Regions from separate parts of the Homo sapiens genome. Here regions 1 and 2 are each linked to region 3. Evidence: promoter capture Hi-C in human tissues and cell types (Jung and others, 2019). All regions are on one chromosome and are shown on one strand. The core of a region is centred on a gene start or on the middle of the fragment in contact, and the rest is flanking DNA. Distances in the headings are between cores, read along the strand shown.

The links. The method cuts DNA at HindIII sites, captures the fragments that hold promoters and counts their contacts. A contact is called where the count stands out against the background at its distance.
Region 1: a fragment that was not itself captured here is called in contact with the fragment with the promoter of ANKRD62 in region 3 in 2 of the 25 tissues and cell types used here (H1 embryonic stem cells and spleen).
Region 2: a fragment that was not itself captured here is called in contact with the fragment with the promoter of ANKRD62 in region 3 in 1 of the 25 tissues and cell types used here (adrenal gland).

Annotation. Positions count from the first base shown.
Region 1 is chr18:12,155,770-12,159,606 of GRCh38, reverse strand. It overlaps a transcript of ANKRD62 not described here. Among named protein-coding and RNA genes, the nearest start is that of C18orf61, 43 kb to the left of the region's middle. The HindIII fragment of the contact is 5,580 bases long and covers 1-3,837 here.
Region 2 is chr18:12,048,591-12,052,662 of GRCh38, reverse strand. No RefSeq gene overlaps it. Among named protein-coding and RNA genes, the nearest start is that of ANKRD62, 43 kb to the left of the region's middle. RefSeq lists an enhancer at 1,913-2,102. The HindIII fragment of the contact is 3,055 bases long and covers 539-3,593 here.
Region 3 is chr18:12,092,528-12,096,222 of GRCh38, reverse strand. ANKRD62 (ankyrin repeat domain 62) reads right to left here and starts at 2,380. Exons shown (of 14, transcript NM_001277333.2): 1 at 1,988-2,380; 2 at 938-1,052; 3 at 613-786; 4 at 1-27. The coding sequence starts at 2,205. It also overlaps the pseudogene LOC100533852. The HindIII fragment of the contact is 7,146 bases long and covers 1-3,695 here.

The DNA.
Region 1 (3,837 bases), core at 1,335-3,834, 63 kb before region 3:
CTGCTACCAAACATCCTGAACCACAGGACAAATCTCTTTGTAACCTATAGACTCTACTTATTGGACAATTTGCAGATTAGTTATTTCCTAACTTTCTGTACATAAAAGCAGTGTCAACAGACCAAAATCTAACTATTGGTCTCCACTATGGAACTAGAAAGCTAGCCTTGGGGAGAGGGAGAAACTGTCTAATGCATGTCAATTTGTTAAGTACTAAATTTTGTACATTAAATTCATTTAAATATGATTTTTCAGGATAGAACAGAATGAAGGCAGGGGAGAAAATTACCCCCAAATCAGTATCTTTTATACCAGTATGTGTTAAAGAAAATGAACTAAATATCATGAACAATGCCAACTACTGTGTCCCTGACTATTCTCCTCACCTCTTCCAAGCAACTCAAATCACTTTTCTTCCCTAGATACCTCAAAGCAGGGTCTAACTACAAAATATATGCACTCTTCTTTAAATACACGTTTTCCTGGTCATTTATTATATAATTAAATTAAACTCAATAGGTCGTTATACTTCTGCTGTGTTCAGTGTCTTGCATGAGGAGAAAGATGTCCAGCTTTAAACTTTTTCCATCACAGGTTAATAGCATAGGAAGAATTTTGTGGAAGGTCTGAACTAGGCCCCATATTTTAAAAGAAATACACTTATTACCTTTAAAATCATATATATTCACTTCCAACTCAAATGGCAAACGAAGCACCTCCCACTCGAAGCCCAGCTGAAATATTTTTAAATGTGTGTTAAATAAAAAATTTCTGGCCGGGCGCGGTGGCTCACGCCTGTAATCCCAGCACTTTGGGAGGCCAAGGCCGGTGGATCACGAGGTCAGGAGATCGAGACCACGCTGGCTAACACGGTGAAACCCCATCTCTACTAAAAATACAAAAAAAAAAAAAAAAATTAGCCAGGCATGATGGTGGGCGCCTGTGATCCCAGCTACGGGAGGCTGAGGCAGGAGAATGGCGTGAACCCGGGAGGCAGAGCTTGCGGTGAGCCGAGATGGCACCACTGCACTCCAGCCAGGGCGACACAGCGAGACTCCGTCTCAAAAAAAATAAAAAATAAAAATAAAAAATTTCTAAAGCAATTTTGTAGGGTATTAACAATTTGCAAAAGTAATCCTATTTGCAATATCTTTTCAGGTTGCACATACAGAGGAAGAGATTGTTTAAAATAATAAAAGCATTGATGGTAGAGACAAAAGGAAGATACCTTAGCTGATAGTTAACAGACAGAAACACAATGATGAAAGAACACAACAGCCAAAAATACCAGACAGAAGGGGACTCTGGAAATGTCACCAAAGCCACAATGACCAGGCTATTCAAAGAGGTGTGATCAGCATCAGCTGGCTACTCAGGTCCCTTGCCTTCTCATTTACTACCTCTAAACAAAGCACGTTCCTCTGGCAGGAGAGGTATTTATACCCCAGCATAGACCTAGGCCTGTCTCTGAATAGAGTGAGCCACCTGCCTATTGTGGGGACACACCTTGTCTTGTGGCCTGAGATGAGGAAGGCAGGCCTGGAGGTGACTTGTGGATCTCCAAACCTGACGCTGGAAGGGGGAGCCAACACTACCCAAGGGTAAGATGTTCTAAAGCTCATGACCCCAAAATACAGCCTCCCTGCTTTTGTTTGTTTGTTCCAAGAACATAAGGGGTTCACCCTAGCCACTCCCACCTACGCACCACAGGGAAGCTGGTCTGTTGACATCCCTGGCCACTGGCAGCACTTGTAGAAGCCCATAGTTGCCCATCCCAGCCAAGACCTTTAAGACCTGCTCAGGAATCAGACCTTTCCAGCTGCAGTGGAAACCCATTTGGCCACCTATACTATTCAGCCTCCTCCTTGTCCATAAAAATGAACAGACAGCCAATGACCACCCAGTCATTTAAGGAAATCCAACAGCAAGAAAGGAAAGGACAAAGATGTAAATAGAAAGCGAGGCAGAATCTGAGCACAAGCGAACACACTAGCCCTAGGAGAAACAGATAATTCACGGATGAGAAACCTTCAAACAGATAATTCATGAACAGAAAACATTCAAAGGATATTACATCATATTATGTTAAATATTACAACACAGTCTAGTTCACCAAAGAACAAAATTGGCAAGGCAAAAAATGGAAATCAAAAATAATCAAAGACCTACTGAAGAAGTAAAAATAAAATCTGTTGAAATTAGTAATTTACATGGGCCAGGGGCGAGGATAGGGCCTGGTTCATCACAAAGGGGTCACTCTGAGTGATGAAATGTTCTACATTTTGATCATGGTCGTGGTTACTTGACTACAGGTGTTTATCAAAACCCATAGAACCATATTCTAGAAAGAATAAATTTTACTGTATAAAAAGTCTGAAAAGTGATTTTTAAAAATGCTTGTTGAAATAAGTGCCCAGCAGAACAAGCAAAATATCTTTATCAGACATACCCTAGACAGATTTCAGCATCCCAAAGTAGAACTTCAGAAAGCTTCTGGAGAGGGAGAAAAAAGTTTGCCTATAAAGTTATCTTGGGCTGGGCACAGTGGCTCTTGCCTTTAATCTCAGCACTTTGCGGGGCCGAGGCAAGCAGATTGCTTGCCTGGGCAACATAGTGAGATGCTGTCTCTTAAAAAAATGAGAGACAGCGAGCGAGAGAGAGCGAGAGAGTGAGAGAGGAAGTTATCATATATCTTATCAGCAAAACTATGCCTTTAAAATTTAGAGGGAAAATACTTTTCTACCCTATGAAGACAAAAATGTGACATTTTCAATCAAGCAATGACTCAAAGTTACAACCCACGTACACCATGTTTTTAAAAATTAATATAGGATATTTTTTATGAAAACAAAAATATTCAAGAGAGAACTAAATGGTATAGCAAATTCAGTGACAGCTAAAAATGCCCTAAAATGGTGTTTTTAAAACTTTGATTAGAGCCAACAGTAAGAGATGCATCTCCTCACAGCTTAGAACACACACAGATGTGTATAAAATGCAAGCTTCAAAGTAATATCTAGACTTATATTATGTGATGCTCTATAAGTTTTCCTATTCTATTCTAGTATATTCCTTTTTAAAAATACTGTTCTTTACCCACTAAATCAACGTCCTGACTCAGTAGTGGATCTAATCCATAGATTAAAAAACAGATTTCACAGAAGCAAGCAAGCAGAAACAAAACCATGAAGAATATGAGGATCTACCAGTCCATGACATGTGGGATACTCCTTTTGACAGGGAGAGGTCTAATGGATTATGGAGTTGGAGAATATTTTTGAAATACCTATTGTGTTAGTTCTTCTCATGTTGCTACAGAAAAATACCTGAGATTGGGTAATTTATAAAGAAAAGAAATGTATTTGGTTTATGGTTCTGCAAACTGCACCGGAGGCGTGGCACCAACATCTGCTTCTAGTCAGGCCTCAGGAAGCTTCCAATTATGGTGGAAGGCAAAGGGGGAGCAGGCGGGTGTGTCACATGGTGAGAGAGGAGGGAAGGAGAGAAAGGGAGGGAGAGGGAGGGGGGAAGGAGAGAGAGAGAGAGAAAGAGAGAGAGAGAGAAGGTAGTATCAGGCTCCTTTAAACAATCAGCTCTGGCCTGAACTAACAGAGTGAGAACTCACTCATTACCACAGAAAGGCAAATCTCCAACACTGGCGATCACATTTCATCATGAAATTTAAAGGGGACAAATACCTAAGCCATATCACCAACTGACTTTTTCTTCCTCCCACTATTTCCCCCTTTCTATCTCCCCAATGTCTATCTGAAGGAAGTACCCTTTCCAGGGTTCAGTCTTAGGAGGGATGACAGTGTAGAAAATGGAAGTGGCCAG
Region 2 (4,072 bases), core at 817-3,316, 43 kb after region 3:
CCATATAACGAATATTTGTAACATCAGAGTACCAGAAGGAAAGGAGAGAGGTATTTAAAGTATTTTAAAAAATAATGGCTGAAAATGTCCCAAATTTAGCAAAAGTTATGAAACTACACATTCAAGAATCTGAGATAACATCAAATAAGATAATTTTAAATAAATCCATGGTGAAGGCAAATCATAATTAAATTTTTGAAAACTAAAGACAAAATCTTCAGAGTAACCAGAGATAAATAACACATTCCCTACATAAAAGAATGGCAGATTTCTCATCTGAATCCATGGTGGCCAGAAGGAAGTGTAGGACATTTTCTCAGATACTGAAAGAAAAGAACCATAACAAAATTCTCTATCTTTTGAAACTATATTCATGAACAAAGGGAAATAAAAAGCTTACCAGACAGGAAAACTAAGAGAAAATGTTGCTAGCAAACCTACCTTTAAAAAGATGACTAGAGGAGGTTCTCTAAATAGAAAGTATATAACGCAGGAAGGCTGGGAACACAGGAAAGAAAGAACATTGGAGGTTGGCAGAAATAGGGGGAAATGTAATAGAATCTGTTTCTCATGAGTTTCTGACATCATATTTGATGTTTGGAGAAAAATGCTCTGTATGTAGAGGAAATACTTAATTCTATTTAAAAGGGGGGAGGGTAAAGGGATCTAAGTAGAATGAAGCTTTCTACATTTCACTTGAAGTGGTAAAATGCTGACTAATAGACTGTGATAAGTTACATATGCACACTTTAATATCTAGAACTGCTAAGAAAACGATAAAGAGTATTGTGCTTAGAAACACTGCAAATAAACAAGATGGAATCTAAAAAATGTTGATATAACCAACAGGAAAATAAGAAAATGGTAATAGATGAATGAAAAACCGAGAAAACAAAACAAATAAAATAGCAGCCTAACATAGCAATATTTATCTTAAATGTAAATAATCAATGTGTATCAAAATACAAATTGACAGAGTGGAAAGAACAAGAAACATAATTCTAAAATATTTATAGGAAATTCATAACATAGTTAACAACATGAGTTGATAAAGAATAGAAAAAGATATACCATACAAACATTATTCAAATCAAAGTAAGAGTGGCCCCATTGATATCACATAAAGTCGACTCTAGAGCAAAGAAAACTCGTGGGCAAAAAGATCACTATATAACGATAAAAGTATCAATCCAACAAAAATGCAGTTATCCTAAATATGTCCCCACCAAACAAAAGAACCTCAAAGTACACAAAATAAAACTGACTGAGCTGAAAGGAGAAATAGGCACATTTTAAATTCTAGTTGTAAGTCTGACCACCTCACTCTCAGCAGTTGGTAGAATCACTAGGCGTTAAATTACTAGCAGACATAGAACAGGAGAGCACCATCAACCAATAGGGTAGAAGCAACATTTACGGAACAGTGCCCAACAGCAAAATATACACTTTTTCTCAAGTGCTCATGGACTATTCAGGAAGATAAACCATATCCTGGGCCATAAACCAACCTCAGCAGGTATAAAAGAACTGAAATCATTCCGAGTGTGTTTTCTGGCCATAATGAAATGAATCAAACTATGAATTAATTCATAGTAGAAAGACAACAGCAAAATATCCAACCACTTGGAAATGAAACAACAGACTTCTAAATAATATTTGGATCAAAGAAAAAGCCTCAAAATAAATTTTAGAAATTCATGGAATTGAATAAAGCCCTGCTGATAGGGAAATTAACAGCACTAAATGTTAACCTCAGAAAAGAGGAAAGGCCTCAAAACGATAATTAACTTTCTACTTCAAGAAACTAGAAAAACAAGGAGGGACGGGACAAGGTTGTGGCTGATCCCAGAGAGGTAGTGGCAGCCACCGAGGCAGAAAGTGGGACTGGCGCACACCCTGAGCACATCGCAACCCCTGTGCACCCAGCTGTGAACCGGGGGAGCCAGATCAGAGGCCGGTGCCAGCTGGGCCAACTCCAACAAGGACACATCCCTAGCTGTGGGTAGTAAGTCCAGTTATAAATTTTTCTCCCTTCTTCTGTGGATAAGCTGGAACAGATCCCTGAATTGCACTGATACCGAAGATGCGTGCATTATAGAAAATTGTTGTCAAGCACCTTAGTGGCCATTTTGAACCTCAAAGCTCAGAGGAAGCTAAAGGTTTGCCACTTGAAAAAGGGAACTGAGATCTGCAACTACAGCTACTCCAATAAGATAGTGGCTGTGGAGCTCCAAAGGCAAAGGCTAATAGCGTGCCTGGGAGATCCTTTGCACTTCCACAACATTTGGGACTTGAAGGTACTGCCTGGGATCAGGAGATCCTCCAAGCCCTGCAGGCTTGTGAGCACTACCAATAGTTACTTGGCCTAGGCAGGGAGTGCTGTGACTTTTCTATTTTAAATTTATACAATTTATTCAGCAAAGTAATGAGATATTGTGGTTGCAAGTTTCAGTATTTGCCTAGCTTCCCTTTTCATTTTGCAGAATTAGAACAACCTCAAATACTTCAAACTGCATTCCAAACCAACGCATATAGCAGCTAAAGTTCTGAGGGCATTTAAGTGGAGTTATTCTATGAAAGATCATTTTAGATTTTTTGGAGTGGTGAAAGTTTAGGATGGAAATGAAAAGGTAAAAATATTGTATCTGCTCTGCCTTTTCAGGATTTCAGGTTTTTTAACAGAGGAAGGGTGAGAGATGCCTGTTTCCAGGTCATTGTGCCATGGTCACACCTGTTGAATAGCTTCCAAAGGGGGTTGGTCAACTGACCATCTGCAGTGAAATGCCCTGATATTCCTGGGTTGGCTTTACAGCAAGTCTCTAAATGCTGGGAGCACATAGTCAGTTCTCACTGTGCAGACTTTTCTAGAGGAGCTAGTGTGTAGATTGTATTGTTACTAGGCAGAGGGAAAAGGTGAGGAGGATAAACTTTTCTTTAAAATCTCTTATATGTCCATCCTGGACCCTCAGTCATGTGGGATCCCAGTCATGCCATATTGGGTGTGCTCCCAAGTGGAGCAGGCTGCTGTTTACCAAAGAGAGAGAAGGGCCATGGCAAGAGGCAGTCTTGACCTGCCCCACAGGCTTATGACACGGGACCAGAGGGGTCTCTCTCTGTCTCCTTCCAGAAACCAGCTTTGGACTCCATCTCTGAGGGGGCATATTTGGATAAAGTGAGTGTTAATGGAGGAAAAAAAATGTCAAAGGGTACATGATAGATTTAGAACCCTGAGCTGGGGTTTCCTGGTAATCAAAGAGAGAGTTGCATTTCAAGTTCTGTGTGAAGATATTATTAGTTTTGGTGCCTGCCTGTTGACTTTTACACTTGTGGTGATTTGGGAACTCTAATTTACTTTGCCAGGTTTCTTTCATCTTTCTCTGGGATTGGTAGCTCTAGAAGATGTTGGCAATTTGCTTCCTTCTTTCAGCCTCAGTTTTCTGTTTAAAATGAGGCAGTTTGGAAGGGTGGCCTCTGAAGTCCTGGAGCCATCAACCCCTGCTCCCCTTTGGGTGACCCTGGCAAGGCTTGGCACTTTCACTTCCAGACACAGAAAGCTCTGTGCTTACCTGGGTAGAATCTGATGTGAGCACCCCATAGAGGGAGGACTAAGGATTCGTGGTTGAGAAAAATGAAAAGAGTTTATGTGGGTTTGCTGAGTAATCATCATGGGAAAATTACTCATGTCTATTTTTCCTTTGCTTATTTCATTGCTATAAGCATCTCTTTCTCTTCCCTTACACTTTAACCCCCCTGAGTCCCATCAAGTCCCAGTGTCACTGGCAGGCCTCAGGCATGTGCAGGTCCGGCAGGGAGGCAGGGAGAGCTAGAAGTACTGAGTTGGCCATTAGTAGAACTCTTACTGCCATGCCAGGAACCTAGATGGAGACTGCAGAGTGGATGGAACGGTAGGAGGCAGCTGGCAGTGAGAGCTGCTCCATGCCTGGCTACAGGAAGGGAAGAAGGAGGAGTCACTTGCCACAGGCTGGAGGCTGGAAGCTGGAGGCTGGAGCCTGCGGCACCACTGCTCACCTCGCTGTGGTTGGTGGCAAAGACTGAGACTGCAGCCAGCCAG
Region 3 (3,695 bases), core at 1,131-3,630:
AGCGAGTAAAAGTGATGTATGTCCATCCTGCAAAACAGCAAAAACAATTTATAATTCACAAAATTACATACTTCCCAACTGAACTGAAAACCTTATGTTAAGATCCTATGAACTTAAACATGAAGCAGAAAGTAAATAAAAAGCAATCCCTTCCTTCTCACTCCACTGTGCTTGCCCACATGTTGCTCCTTCCCTTTCAGATACCCCTCCTAGGGTGTCTGGAAGGCACAGTAGCAGACTGGAGCACATATGCCTCACATAAAGGGATAACCGCTGCACAGCATACTCAACAGTGATATGAGCTCAAGGGAATCCAGATGTGATCCTTTAAGAGAAGCCTGAAATCTAGACATGTGTATGAGTTTCCTAAATTTTACATGTTGACACAGCTTATGGAGGTAAACTAACCTAAATCTATGGGACACATTTAGACTACAGACCTCGTGTTTTCATATTTGTTATGAATGTATTTTTAAATAGTTGTATGTAAAGCAAATATTTGCACGTAATATATTTCCTTCTAGTTTCAGATGTTTTACTAAAAAAAATCATATGTCAATGGTAAAACAAATATACTTGAAATACTTTGAAAAGAACATTGGTTGATCATACCTGGCTTCTTGCTTCAATATCTGCACCATATGCAAGCAGTTTTCTTGCCATTGATATATTCTCATTATCAATGGCATAGTGCAGAGCAGTGTTGCCATACATATCTCTAACATTTGGGTTGGCGCCATGTTCCAGCAGGATGGATGCACAAACTTCTTCTTGACATTGTACAGCCTGTCAGTATTAGACCAAGAAATAGACTGTAAATTCTAGGAAATCTTCCACAGGATTCACCAACTAGTCACATTTCAATGAGGTGAATTAATTTTATTCTGTGAATTTAAATTAAATCCATCCCATGCTGAAAGAGTTGGCTACCATATACCTTGATCAGAGCTGTCCTGTTTTCACTGTCAGTGAGGTTAAGCTGGCATTTTCTGGCCACCAGGTCAGCTACCACTCCTGGACGGCCATGGGCACACGCCAAAAGTAGAGCAGTCCTGTGAGAATGAGAGGTCGCTTTAGGCAATTGTAGTGCACAGTCCCAAAACATACAACGACGCATGCAATTGTAAACATCCAATAGTATGTTATCCCTCTGCCTTCAGAACAAATAGTTACTTTTCTTGTGAAGAAAGGCAAGGTTTCCACATCCCAGGTGCTGCTGAGGCTGCCAGGGTAGAAAGCCCAGTGCCCTTGGTGACAACACTCACCCCACCCCCACCCCCACCCTTGCATCGTACCCACATCCTACCCAACTCTACCCCCAACCAGTCCCCTCACTCCATCCAACCCCCACCCCAGCCAACCCTCACTCCACTCGACTCCCCACCACAGTCCCTCACCCAACTCTACCCCCCACCACAGTCCCCAACCCCACCCACCCCCACACCAGTCCTGCACTCCATCCAACCCCCACCCAACTCCACTTCCCACCAGTCTCCCACCCAACTCTACCCCCACCACAGTCCCCCCAACATCCAACGCCCCCAGCCACTCCCCACCACAGTCCCCCACCCCATCCCACCCCCCACCAGTCCTCCACCCCAACCCACCCTCACTCCACTCCCCACCACAGTCCCTCACCCAACTCTACCCCCACCACAGTCCCCCATCACATCCAACGCCCCCCAGCCACTCCCCACCAGTCCCCCAACCCATCCCACCCCCCACCACAGTCCTCCACCCCTTCCAACCCCCACCCAACTCCACTTCCTACCACAGTCCCCCACCCAACTCTACCCCCACCACAGTCCCCCATCACATCCAACGCCCCCCAGCCACTCCCCACCACAGTCCCCCACCCCACCCACCCTCACCTGACTTCCACCCCACCCACGCCTTCACCCCACACCGTATCTCCCCTACCCCGAAACCAGGAACAGGGGCTTCTCCCATATCCCCAGGCCTCCTCCCGGCTTCCTGTTCCCCTTACCTGTTCTTCTTGTCCCTGTCGTTCAAGTCATTCAGCCTGAGCAAGATGCTCTCCATCACCTTGTTCACATCACCTGCGATGGCAGCTTTGTGGATCATGCCCAGATCCTTCTGCCGGACTCGGTACCCGGGATTTGAGAAGCCATCCTTGTCACGATTCTTCCTCCAGGTAGCCATGCGTCTCCTGCAGGCCGCCAGGAACGACCCCCTGACCTCCATCCTGAAGCCAGAGATCTTCTCCCAGGCTGAGGAACGGCTTTAAGACACCTCAGCTCCCACTCGTTTTCTGCCTCTCTGGAGCGCAGCACCAGCACGTAACCAGGTCCAGCCGCAACCTCCGTCAGGGACACTCCAGTCTCCAGCTGCTCGGAGGAGCACCTAGCCCAGCAGAGCCGTTAGGCACCAGCGCGCATGTGCACCTCAGCCGGCCCACGAGGCCATCCGCGGAGAAACAGCCCTGAGCCTCGCGCCCTCCATTCGCGGGCGCCACGTGGTGGCGCACCCGCCCTCCCCCCACCTCCCACCGCCCCCCGCCTCCCCGGCCAGAACCCTTAGGCACCAGGGCACATGCGCACCTCAGCCTGCCCGCGAGGCCCTTCGCGGGAGCTGCGCACTCTCGCGAGCGCCGCCTGCTGGCTGGCTCACGCCTGTGATTCCAGCACTTTGGGAGGCCGAGGCAGGCGGATCACGAGGTCAAAAGATCGAGACCATCCTGGCTAACACGGTGAAACCCCGTCTCTACTAAAAATACAAAAAATTAGCCGGTCGTGGTGCCGGGCGCCTGTAGTCCCAGCTACTTGGGAGGCTGAGGCAGGAGAATGGCGTGAACCTGGGAGGCGGAGCTTGCAGGGAACCGAGATCACGCCACTGCACTCCAGCCTGGGTGACAAAGCGAGACTCCGTCTGGAAAAAAAAAAAAAAAGAGCCAGGCTTTTAGTGCCCGGCAGGGACTCAGGAGGAAGCCGCAGAGCCATAGATCTGCCTTGGTTGGTTCTGCCCTAACTTTGCCCTGTGCTACCCTGGGCCTGTTCTACCCTGCCCTGCCCTGCCCTGCCTTTGGCTCTGCCCTGATCCTGCTTTGGCCCTCACACTGGCCCTAGTGCAGACCTGGCCCTAGCCCTAGCCTTGGCCCCGCACGGCCATAGCCCTAGCCCCCTCCAGGACCCCTCCCCAGTGCCAGCTGCAGGCCCTGGAGATGCTGCAGTGAGCCCGAGAGTACAACGCTCTTCAGCCTGGTGTGGCACGGCACAGCGCAGCGCCCAGGCCCTACTCAACTATGGTGTCACCACGGACGCCAGCACACTGCTGGCGGGACAATGCCACCTGCTGGAGCAGGACGAGAACAGAGACACGCCACTATACCTGTCCATCATCCATGGGCCGACCAGGGTCATCAAGCACATAGCCCATGTCATCTACCACACCCAGCACCTTGGCATCGTCAACCTCACCAACCACCTGCACCAGACACCCCTGCACCTGGCAGTGATCACCAGGCAGATGAGGGTGGTGAGCTTTCTGCTTCAGGTGGATGCAGACCCAGCACTGCTGATTGGCATGGAGACTCAGCCATGCACCTGGCACTGCAGGCAGGCCCTGGTGCCTCTGAGCTGCTGCATGCACTGCTTTGGAGTGGAGCTCCCGCTGTGCCTCGGCTGTTGCACATGCCTGACTTTGCAGTACACCTGGCGGCCCAAGCCCAAAGCCCC